Regions from separate parts of the Homo sapiens genome. Here regions 2 and 3 are each linked to region 1. The links are contacts of gene promoters, found by promoter capture Hi-C in blood cells and fetal thymus (Javierre and others, 2016). All regions are on one chromosome and are shown on one strand. The core of a region is centred on a gene start or on the middle of the fragment in contact, and the rest is flanking DNA. Distances in the headings are between cores, read along the strand shown.

Region 1 (3,993 bases), core at 468-2,967:
AGCAACATGATCATTTAATATTCAACTAAATGAGATGTTAATTTTCATTGCAAGATTAGAGCTGAGAGCATTTACACAGAATTGCAGAAACTGAAGATGCCTGGAAAAATTCCTGAGGATTGTTCAGTACTCAGTATAGCGGTTAAGAACGTTTGCTCTGGAGTCTTAAGGAGAACCCTAGCACTCCCCAACATTACTACCTCTATTGTGTTACTGGGAGAATTAAATGAGCAACTGTGTTATGGGCCTATCAGTGTTAGGCACATAAAAAGTGTTCCCCAACTGCTAGCTCCTGCTATTAGTATAAGAAAAACAGGGGCCCCACTGGCCCCAAAGAGTGGGCTACTCTACGATTGTTCTCTGGAGACACCATCGGCAGGCCTGTTTCTAAGTGAAAGCTGGCGTGCAAACTGAAGAAAAGTGGCAGAGATAGATGCGCTCTTTCTTCTGTCGTTTCAATTGGCATCTGGTGAACTATGCCTAACAGCTTAACGCCCAACTGAAAAAAACTGTAAACTAGGATGGTAAGGAAGAGATGGGGTTTGAGCAGTGACTACAACTCTTCTTCTGAGTGTGTGGGTTCAAAAAACACTCCCTCCCACACTTAGCTTTAGGCAAGCCACTTTACCGTTTTAATCTCCGCTTTCCTCATATGGAAAATGGGATAACAAAAGTGTGTAATTGGATTGTTTGTACCTCAATGGATAAATGCTGGGATGGACGCCCCGTTCTCCATCACGTGCTTATTTCACACTGCGTGCCTGTATCCAAACATCTCATGTACCCCACAAATATATACACCTACCATGTACCCTCAAACATTAATTTTTAAAAAGTTACTGTCTCCTGGAGTTACGGTGCGGAGCGCACAGCTCCCGCTACGCCGCAAAACAACTACCACCTGCAGCAGCCGGCCCTCCACGCTGGCCATGAAAGGCGCTGGGCTAGACAGCCTGCGACGGGGCGGCTTCTCGGGCTATGCCACTTACTGCGGGACACACTGGCTCACCCGGGTCTGCCTCGGAGGAATGCAGTGAGGATTAAACTAGCTAATCCACGGAAAGCGCTTAAAACGGTGCCTGGCTCGTCCCTGGCCCCCACGCGCCTCGGGGCTGATATTCAACTGCGCATTAGCAAGGCCGTGGGCCCCGTGCCGAGGCTTCCTGCGGGCGGGATCCGCGGGCACGGCCGGCCCAGCCGCCAGGTGAGCCTGAGCCCTTCCCGGCACCTGCATCCTCCGCCGCCACAAAAAGCAACTTTTTAACAGTTTCGCAGCGGGGGCCTCCCGGGCCAGGCCGCCGCCCGCCCGCGGGGCGCCCCCGCCCTCACCTTGCTGGAGGTCCTGGTGGTCGTACCACGGCTCGTCCTCCTTCATCTCAAACTCCTCTACCAGGTTTTCCGCCAGCATCTCGGCTGGGTCTTCTAGGGGCAGCGGCCCCCGCCGCCGTCCCGCCTCAGCCGCTGCCCCGGGCTCTTCCCCGGCCCCTCCGCCCTCAGCCAGAGCCGCCCTCGGGCGGGACGCGCCGCCGCCCAGACTCCGCTGCGCCGCCTCAGCCCCGTTCCCGCCGGCGGCCGCCGACCGGCCGGCTGCCTCGACTCGCCTCGCGCCTACCGACGGCCCCAACGGCCGGGCATTACGGTGCGAACGCCTGGAGCCGGAGTCTCACGCAGCCGCCAGTCTTCACGCCGCCGCCGGGCCCAACGTGGCACTTTGGCAGAACCCTCCCCGGCCGGGGATGCGATTCAAACCCCCGGCGGCGCCTCAACCAATCGCGAGCGGGCTGCTGGCCGAGCGGCAGGGACTTCGTCCAATCGCCTCTCTCCAAAGACCGGCGGCTCGCCCGGTATCGAGGGCAAGCAGCCAATGGTGGGTCCGGAATAAACAAAGAAGGCGGGGAAAGAGTGAAGGGGTGCGGCCGAAAGCCCGTCCCCTGATCTGCGCTGTGAGGCTCCTAGGAGGGCGTTCTGGGTTTCGGGCTGGGGAGCTGGCAGAGGCGCGTCTTACCCCTGTGGTGGGTGTCCCGAGGCCGGCGCGTCTGTGGACAGGCAACGCAGGCCGGAGGGCCTAGGACTCCGGCCTCTGAGAGGCGGGCGGTTGTCCAGGGGAGTCCTTCGTGCCGGCGGGAAGCGCAAGGGTGCCGGAAGCCTGAGGTCCGCCGCCCGGCCACCCCTTCTCGCATCTTGACTCTGAGATTTGCTCCGGGTCCGGCGGGGAGACTCGAGGTCGATCGGGAGTTTGGGTTGAGAAAACGCCCACTGAGCGGTAGCTCTTGTCTCCTTGACATCTGAGCCCTGGGAATTAAACTCACGCTACATAAAACGGTGGGCACCAGACCCCCTTGAGAATCTGGGGCGGTGAGGGATGCCCGAAGCTGTCCACTTGGAGGGCGAAAATTGTAAGCAGTGTTGCAACGATTTTTAAAAGGTACCCCTAGACCACAAGTTAAGCATCTGGGGACGTGACATTGCACCTGGAGGGGACAGGCTGCAGCTCCAGCACTTAGTAGCCAGCGAGGCAGAGCACGCTGTCCTCCACCGACATAACCCAGCAAATACTGCTCCTAGGTAAAGCTTTAAGCACCATCTTGCAGACAAAGCACGGAAACTCTTAAGCAGGATGACAGACCTGAAGGTCAATGTTCTCAACCTTGACGTAAAGGTAAAGGTGCAGCTGATGGAAGACAACAGGGCCAATATCTAACTAACTTTGAGCAACGAAACAAAAAAAAATCGAGGTTTAAGTATACAATTGAAAGATTATCTCTAGAACATGAGGTAATAAACTGTTAGAAATTCAGAGAGAGGGAAGAGGTGGAGAGGAGTGTTAAATCCTGATCTATTTTAGAAGTGAGTCGACAGATAATACCTTACATTGATAATCCAATGAATAGTTTCCACAAATATGGAGAGAGCTGCCAGAACTAAAAATGGGAAGCAATTAAGAGTTTTCCGAGGCTGGACACGGTGGCTCACGCCTGTAATCCCAGCATTTTGGGAGGCCGAGGCGGGCGGATCACCTGAGGTCGAGAGTTCGAGGCCAGCCTGACCAACATGGAGAAACCCCATCTCTACTAAAAATACAAAATTAGCTGGGCGTGGTGGCGCATGCCTGTAATCCCAACTACTTGGAAGGCTGAGGCAGGAGAATTGCTTGAAACCCGGGAGGTGGAAGTTGCAGTGAGCCGAGATTGCGCCATTGCACTCCAGCCTGGGCAAAAACTGCGTCTCAAAAACCAAACAAAAAAAAAAAGTTTTCCTAAGAGGAGGAGTGATTTGAGGCTGGGGACTTTGGCTTTTTGTTATAAACCCTTCTGTGATCTTGCTTTTTTAGTTACTTGCACATTAAAAATAAGGGAAATTGTAGGGAAGGAATTATAGACTCAAGCTACTTTTTTTGTCTTTCTGTATAAAAAAAGACTTGGGTAATTTGGAAGGGGGGAAAAACTCATCCTGAATAATTCTTGTGGGTAATAAAATTCAGGGTGTCTCTCTGCCTCCCATCTTTGCTCAAACCAGCATAACCTAACCTCACGCTGATGCTGTATCAAACAGCACTTGACTCCAGGGTTACCTTACACATAGGCTGTAGGCTACTCTGGAGAAGTCTTGCCAAGGACAAGACCTCCCACTGTGGAGTTGTTACCTGAAGTTTTACCCTTCAGTCCTTAAAGGAGACTGCTGAATAGAGTGGAAAGCACAAGGGACCTAGAGTGAGAAAACCTAGAGTTCTCGCCATACTCAGTACCAGCAGAGAAGCCTTTTAGCAAACAGTTTACAGGAAAGATGATTGTTTGCCTTGCTCACAGAGCTATCTGAATCAGAGAGACCCTGAAAGCAAGTATTTTGTGCTCATTTTAAATGTAAGGCTGTGTTCTTGTGACCTATACTGTAGAAGTGCAGGTACCCTTGAGGACCAATTATGAGCATCACAATAAATAATCATAGTAATGGATTATAACCCATTGAATAAAAAGGAAAGAATCCATGAGTCCA
Region 2 (3,993 bases), core at 513-3,012, 810 kb before region 1:
CTTTCTTCTTTTGAGAATAGAAGATTAGGCTGGGTGCAGTGGCTCATGCCTGTAATCCCAGCACCTTAGAAGGCTGAGGCAGGCAGATCACTTGAGTCTAGGAGTTTGAGACCAGCCTGGGCATCATAGCAAGACCCCGTCTCTACTAAAAATACAAAAAAAAAAAAGTAGCTGGCTGTGGTGGTGTGTGCCTGTAATACCAACTACTCAGGAGGCTGAGGTAAGAGAATCACTTGAACCCAGGAGGTGGAGGTTGCAGTGAGCCAAGATTGTGCCACTGCACTCCAGCCTGAGTGACAGAGCAAGACTCTGTCAGAAAAAAGAAAGAAAAGAGAGAGAGAGAAAGGAAGAGGGGAAGGGAAGGAAGGGAAGGAAGGAAGAGAGAGAGGAAGGAAGGAAGAGAGAGAGAGGAAGGAAGGAAGGAAAAGGAAGGAAGGAAGGGAACAGAAGATTAGTTGAGCATAGTGGCTCAGTGCCTGTAATCCCAGCACTTTGGGAGGCCGAGGTAGGCAGATCATTTGAGCCTAGGAGTTCAAGACCAGCCTGGGAAACATGGCAAAATCCCATCTCTACAAAAAATAGAAAAATTAGCTGGGCATTGTGGCATGCATCTGTAGTCCCAGCTACTTGTGGGGCTGATGCAGGAGGGTCACTTGAGCCCAGGAGGCAGAGGTTGCAGTGAAGTATGATTATGCCACTGCACTCCAGCCTAGGTGGCAGAGTGAGACTCTGTCTCAAAAAAAAAAAAAAAAAAAAGAAGATTGTGAGCAAAAATTGAATGCAATTTTTTTCATAAGCAGAGGTGTAATGGTTATTATTACAAAAGATGATATTAAATTTATTTATGTATTATCTCTTTGCCTCCACCAGAATGTAAGCTTTGTTGAAGGCAAGGATCATTGTTGATTTATTTACTCTGTATCCCAGGCATCTAAAACAGTAAGTGTGCAATAAATATTTGTTGAATGAATCAAAGCATAAGCAAGGCTTCAGATTCATTTTTCTATCAGAGATTCATTTAAAAATGTTAAGGAAATGAGAGGTGAAGACATCCTAAAGGCATAATACTCAAAGTAGTCAGTAGGTTCATTGATAACCCAGAGGAAAATATATAATATTATAGAGGAAAAGAAATTCTCTGAAATCATGGCATCTCTCCTAGCTTGGGATAACATTTTAGCAGAAAGACCGAAGAACTCTTCCAAGAAACATCAAGCAATTAAATGAAGTAGTAGAAAAATCACCAGTACTTTAAAGTAGATGAAGCCATTAAAATAGTTGCAGCTTCAGTAATCACCATGTAAGCCTGTAAGTGGTGGGTCTTAGACCACAACATGGTAGTTATCAAATTGCTTTATTCATCGAAATGTTCATTCTCCTGGCTGCCCTTGAACTTCCAGCCTAAGGCTTTCTCTCTGCAGGGTTGTCAGCATGCTCATGCAAGGCTTTGCCTCTGCAGATTATCAGAGGTGTACTCCATGCCCCTCTCACCATGAAAAAAGGGAGAAAAAGACAATTTCGTCTCAGAGATAGAAAATCTCCCAGAGAGAACCCCTGGCAGCTGGAATCCATTTTTTTCCCCCTGAAGCTGGAATCTGTTATAACTACAGAACACTGAAGGATAATGAGGTTCTGCTGCTAAGCAAATGCTGGGACAAAAAGCACAGAGGTGCTGCAGCCAGGCAGAGACTGGGCTTTTCATGAAACCCTGTGTCTCTGAGCACATATTGCAATAATTCTCTGACTAGCTGCTCAAGGCCTTGGCTTCGTGGCTTTTTACTCCGTTTAAAGGTCTTGATCAGGCCACTTCCGTTTTTAATGTTTGAGAAATGTCTGATTTATGCTGCTTCAAAGTGGAACTTGGGTTTCTATTACCTTTTTGGCACCTTGCACCCATTGTTGGCCTAATTCTGCTGTCTCGTCTATCTTGTGGTTCCTATCAGTAAACAAAGTCCAGGAGAGGCGTCATGCTTGTGAACACCTCCAACATCAAGTTCAAAAGTACAATCATGACCTTGTCCTGTCGTTCTCAGAATCTGGGCTCAGCTATTTCAAACCTCCCATGTCTTCACTGGTAGTGGTCAATTAGAAATCACTGAATCCTTTCCCTAGAGTGGTCAGAGACAGCCAGTTTATGGTAATTTGGGCACAAGTGCCAATTGGAAAGGTGCATTATTCAAACCACTTTGGCTACAAGTGACAGAAATTCAATGCAGGTTAGCTTAAATAAAAAAGGAATTCGGGCTGGGAACAGTGGCTCATGCCTATAATCCCAGCATTTTGGGAGGCCGAGGCGGGTGGATCACCTAAGGTCAGAAGTTCTAAACCAGCCCGGGCAACACGGTGAAACCCTGCCTGTACTATAAATACAAAAAATTAGCCAGGCATGGTAGTGCACGCCTGTAGTCCCAGCTACTCTGGAGGCTGAGGCAGAAGAATCACTTGAACCCGGGAGGTGGAAGTTGCAGTGAGCCAAGATCACGCCACTGTACTCCAGCCTGGGCGACAGTGAGACTCTGTCTCAAAAAAAAAGAAAAAAAGAAAAAAAAGGGAATTTATTGGCTTCTGTAGCTGAAAAGTCAGGCAGATTTGGATCTCAAATTATGTCATTAACTAGTTTCTCTGACTTACCCTCTGCGTTGTGTATAAGCTTTTCATCGCATGGCAGCAAGATACCTCCATGTTCACATAGGGCTAACAGCCCAAGATGGTGAGGAAACATGCACTTTTGTTCCAGTAGCACAGAAAAAGTCCCCAGGTGGACGCTAATGGGCACTGTATGAGTCAAGTGCTCATGGCTGAGGCAGTAGTTGTACCTTGACACATGAAGTCCTCTGACCAGATCTGGGCATGTACCTGACCTTGGGGATGGAAGTGAGGCAGTCCAGCTCCACCAACTCGTAAGGACTGAGACAGTTTACTAGGGAAGAGGGGAAAGCGTGTTTCTTACAGGAAGAAATGCGGGCAGACAAAACACCATATACCCCTTAAATTAGGTTTTCCACAGATAATTGAGGTGGAGCAGAAGGGTAACCACATTTTGACAGCATCATCAGTATGTGGTGAGTGGCCCAGCATTTGACCCTGGCCTCTGTGGTCATCTCAGAGCCCAGAAAGTAGCAGCAGAAGAGCAGAGCATGGGTAGGTAACCATCAGTTCTTGGATAACTGAAGGGTGATCTTGAGGAGCAGTGAGTCTGTGGGATGGCCATGCCTAACAAATGTCATCCAGTTCAGAGCACCAAGGACATTCCCAGCTATGGCTTTTATCTTTTATCTTCTTCTTCTTCTGGTTTTGCTCTGTCACCCAGGCTGGAGTGTAGTGGCATGATCTCGGCTCACTGCAACCTCTGCCTCCCAGGTTCAAGCAATCCTCCCACCTCAGCCCCCTGCGTAGCTGGGACTGCAGCTGAGCGCCACTACACCCAGCTAATTTTTGTATGTTTTGTAGAGATGGGGTTTCACCATGTTGATCATGCTGGTCTTGAAGTCCTAGGCTCAAGCAATCTGCCTGCCTTGGGCTCCCACAATGTTGGGATTACAGGCATAAGCCACCATGCCTGGCTCCAGCTGTGGCTTTTAGAGGAGGAGGTAGTGGTGGCCGGAGGTTTTGCACATGATTCTAGGCAGAACCCTCCTAGTTAATGCCTACTTGTCCTTTAGAACTCAGCTCAAATATTTCCTCTGGGGAGCATTCTCTGGCCTCCACTTGCCCAGCATGAGCCAGACCCTCTAACAATGAGCTCTCATTTAATACCTTGTTTTTCTATCATAGCACTTTCTACAGTCATCTTATATAATCATGTGTAAATCAAACTTATGACTATTTAAATAAGACCTATCTCGCACACTAGGAGGTAGGTAGGCTCCATGAAGATAGAGACTTTAGCAGTTTCACCTACCATTGAATACCCAGTATTTAGTCCAGTGCCTAGCACATTAATAATCACATGGGACCTATTTTTTTTAGATGAATAAGTTATATACAGAGGTT
Region 3 (3,993 bases), core at 493-2,992, 770 kb before region 1:
CCCTTGAACTGTACTTCTCCTCTGACCAGCCCTTGCCTTGGAGAGAAAGGGGAAGGAAATATGAAGAGCTACTGGCCTTCTATTGTGTGCCAGGCACTTCAAATATATTATCCCCAGTAGTCCACATAGAACTCTTGGAGGTTGGTGGTATCATCCGCACTTTACATACAGAAAAGTGAGGGTGAGAGAGAGAAGAGACTTGCTCACCAGCACAGAGTTAATGGATGATAGAGTTGGGCTTTGCACCCAGCTTTGGTTTCAAGGCAACACATTTTCTGCTGCTTTATGATGCCCCTCCTGGTAAACCTTGTGTTGTCTGAGGGGTGGTAAAAATAGGCTTGCCTTCTTTTTTTTTTTTTTTTTTTTTTTTTTTTTTTTTTTTTTTGAGAAACAAGTTCTTACTCTGTCACCCAAGTTGGAATGCAGTGGCCTGATCATATCTCACTGCAGCCTCAAACTCCTGGCCTCAGTACATCCTCCTGCCTCGGCCTCCTGAGTAGCTTCTAAATCTTTTGTAGAGGCAGGGTCTTGCCATGTTGTTCAGGCTGGTCTCAAACTCCTGGCCTCAAGCAGTCCTCCTGCCTCAGTCTCCCAAAGTGCTGGGATTACAGGCGTGAGCCACTGCTCCTGGCCTAGGCTTGCCTTCTGAATAGGAAACTGCCCTCATTCTAGTGAGGCCTCTGTGTAGACACTGAAGTTAGGTAGCTGTGTGCACAATACTTGTTGAAGATTTTGTAGTTTGTGAATTAGATGAGAATAAGACAGCTGCTTGAAGTTCTGGCCTTTATCTGGTTTGTGCATGCTTTTTTTAAGGCTTAAAGTTGAAAAAAGATTCTTACATGTATTGTCATTTTTTCCTGACATCAGCCATTCTCTAATTTTCCATCACCAAGTGGGTGTTTAATTGTTCAATCCTGTTCTGACATTAACTACCTGGAGTTAGGGTCACGCTTTACAGAGTTAAGAGCTCAGTCCCACAAGACTGCCCTCACTTCAGAGGCCAGCTGGAAGTCCTGGGTTCCCAGGCTGCCAGTGCTTTTGTCCACCTTGAACAAATTTGGGAGTTCCCACAACTCTACCTTCACCCTACCCCACCCCACCCCCTAATTTCCTATAATAGAATGACTCATAGAACTTAGGAAAACACAGGTGCGGTGGCTCACGCCTGTAATCCCGGCACTATGGGAGGCTGAGGTGGGTGGATCACGAGGTCAGGAGATCAAGACCATCCCGGCTAACAGGGTGAAACCTGGTCTCTACTAAAAATACAAAAAAATTAGCTGGGCGTGGTGGCACGTGCCTGTAATCCCAGCTACTGGGGAGGCTGAGGCAGGAGAATCGCTTGAACCGTGGAGGCGGAGGTTGCAGTGAGCTGAGATTGCGCCACTGCACTCCAGCCTGAGCGACAGAGCGAGACTCCGTCTCAAAATAATAATAATAATAATAATAAACCACTTAGGTTTACTGGTTTATTACAAAGGATACAATTGGGGAACGGCCAAGTGGAAGAGGTGCATAGGGTGAGGTGTGGGAGGTGGTGTAGAGTTTCTCTTTCCTCTGATGAGCCACCCAACCATCATATCAATGTATTCAGCAAACTAAAAGCTCCCAGGACCCCATAGTTTAGGGGTGTCATTACATAGGCATGATTAGACTCAGTCTTCAACTCCTTTCTCATCCTTGGAGATTGGAAGGTGGGGCTGAAAGTTTGAACCTTATACCCACATCCTGGTCCCCATCCTGAAGCTGTCTGGGTCTCCCACCCCTATCAGGAGTCATCCTGTTAGCATACAAAAGATACTCTTATTACCCTGAGATTCCCGAAGGGTTTTAGGAACTCTCTATCAGGAACCTGGGACAAAGATCAAATATGTATTTTTTATTATACCACATCATCTAAAATCAGTCAGTTTTTAAAATTACTTTCTGACTCTGCTAGTGTGCTTAAATCCTTTGTATTTTGGGAATGTTGTATTTTGGATATGTTGTATATCACATGTTTGATTAGTTGATAAACTCCAAAAATAATTTCAGAAAAACTTTTAACCATATTTGGTCTGATTAGCAAATCTAATTTTATAGGAAAATTGCATTCCTACTTTGAACGAGTGATTCATCAACCAAGGTTATATATAAATATTAGGAGGAGTTCATGGGCTTAATGAGAAATTTTTTTTTTTTTTTTGACAGTCTTGCTTTGTCGCCCAGGCTGGAGTGCAGTGGCACACTCTGGGCTCACTACAACCTCTGCCTCTCTGGTTCAAGTGATTCTTTTGCCTTAGCCTCCCAAGTAGCTGGAATTATAGGTTCCTGCCACCACGCCTGGCTAATTTTTGTATTTTTAGTAGAGACGGGGTTTCACCATGTTGGCCAGGCTGGTCTTGAACTCTTGACTTCAAGTGATCTGCCCACCTGGGCCTCCAAATTGCTGGGATTACAGGTGTGAGCCATCGTAGCCAGCCAGGAAATTTTTAAGACAGTATGACCTAATATTTAATAACTTCGGTTGGCGAATACTGTCAGACATGCATTCAAAACGCGTGGCAGCCACCTGATTTGGCTGTTTACTGCCTGGCCAATTATTAGTATCTTTGCAGTTGTGTTGCCAGTAGGGAGAATATTGCTATTTACTGTAATTTTTAGATATCACATCCTGTTCTGTACTTGGCATCAGCAGATGACTGAATGGAATCATTCTCATTTGATTAGAATTTGTCATTTAAAAGATTCCCTTGTTTATTTAGATGAAACAACATTTGAGTGAGCTTTAAAGGCAGATGCTAATAAGATGCTTTTTCAGACATGGTAGGCTCCAGCCAAGGAGTCCAGCCTCACAGTAGAGTGGGCGTGTAGTCCTGTCAGTGTGTGAATTTAACGGGCATAGTACTTTGTTCTTGCCTGTGCACCTTTGTCTCTGTAGTCTTTAAGGAGCACACATTTAAAGAACTCACCTGCGGCTGGGCGCAGCGGCTCACGCCTGTAATCCTAGCACTTTGCGAGGCCGAGGCAGGCAGATCACCTGAGGTCAGGAGATCAAGACCAGCCTGGCCAACATGGTGAAACCCCATCTCTACTAAAAATACAAAAATTAGCCAGGCGGGGTGGTAGGTGCCTGTAATCCCAGCTGCTTGGGAGGCTCAGGCGAGAGAATCACTTGAACCCGGCAGGCAGAGGTTGCAGAGAGCCTAGATCACACCACTGCACTCCATCCTGGGCGACAGAGCAAGACTCCGTCTCAAAAAAAACAAAGAACTCACCTGCTTGAAAGTACACAGGAGCATACAGACAAGCCACCCAGTGCTGCGAGCTTAGCGTAGCTTTTTATCTAAGCTGGTTGTTTGGAGAGAGGTGAAACCAGGAGTCCTGCCCATTGGGTTAAAGGGGTTCCTGCAGATTTTTTCTCTCCTTGGTCCTTGGTATTTCACCTTAAGGGCAAGGTGACTGCTCCTTTAAGGCTCTGAAGCTCCTCGCCAAGATCATAGTCACATTACTTGTTTCCCTTGGTTTCTGATTTTATTTTCACTCTGGAATGTAAGTTCTCTGAGGCCAGCGAGTCCATCTTTTAATTCAGTCAGCTGGAGTCCCTAGACCATAGTTAGGCTGGGATAGTGGGAAACACTACTGGAGAGTCAGTACAGTGACATTTTGTGGGTAAGGCCATGTATGGGTTCTCAAGCAGTGGCAGTTTTGCCTCCCAGGGGACATTTGGCAATGCCTGGGACATTTTGGGCTGTCATTTGGGGTAGTGCCACTGTAACCTGATGGATAGGCACTAGGAATGCTGCTGAACATCCTACAATGTGCAGGTCAGCCCCTATAACAAAGGATCATTTAGCTCCAAATGTCAGTAGTGTGAAGGCTGAGAAACCCTGGCTTACAGGACTTTAGTTACTATCTAGACCAGATTATCTTTTCTCTACACACATGTAGTTCAGTTTAATTGGCAGGATAGTCCTGCTTTCTTTTCTTTAGCAGACACACTGGGTAGAGTTA

What was found. The method cuts DNA at HindIII sites, captures the fragments that hold promoters and counts their contacts. A CHiCAGO score of 5 or more calls a contact.
Region 2: a fragment that was not itself captured here is called in contact with the fragment with the promoter of CDR2 in region 1 in 9 of 17 cell types (M0 macrophages, erythroblasts, M1 macrophages and 6 more); the score reaches 10.8 in M0 macrophages.
Region 3: a contact is called between a fragment that was not itself captured here and the fragment with the promoter of CDR2 in region 1, in 4 of 17 cell types (neutrophils, non-activated CD4 T cells, naive CD8 T cells and 1 more). The highest score is 6.9, in neutrophils.

What each region holds. Positions count from the first base shown.
Region 1 is chr16:22,372,902-22,376,894 of GRCh38, forward strand. CDR2 (cerebellar degeneration related protein 2) reads right to left here and starts at 1,718. Exons shown (of 5, transcript NM_001802.2): 1 at 1,330-1,718. The coding sequence starts at 1,408. CDR2-DT (CDR2 divergent transcript) reads left to right here and starts at 1,986. Exons shown (of 3, transcript NR_148970.1): 1 at 1,986-2,322; 2 at 2,426-2,659. RefSeq lists a silencer at 1,251-1,480 and enhancers at 2,021-2,100, 2,441-2,490. The HindIII fragment of the contact is 4,746 bases long and covers 1-2,569 here.
Region 2 is chr16:21,564,205-21,568,197 of GRCh38, forward strand. No RefSeq gene overlaps it. Among named protein-coding and RNA genes, the nearest start is that of METTL9, 33 kb to the right of the region's middle. The HindIII fragment of the contact is 1,772 bases long and covers 877-2,648 here.
Region 3 is chr16:21,604,912-21,608,904 of GRCh38, forward strand. The region is part of intron 1 of METTL9 (methyltransferase 9, His-X-His N1(pi)-histidine); the gene reads left to right. Among named protein-coding and RNA genes, the nearest start is that of METTL9, 7.3 kb to the left of the region's middle. The HindIII fragment of the contact is 4,521 bases long and covers 1-3,993 here.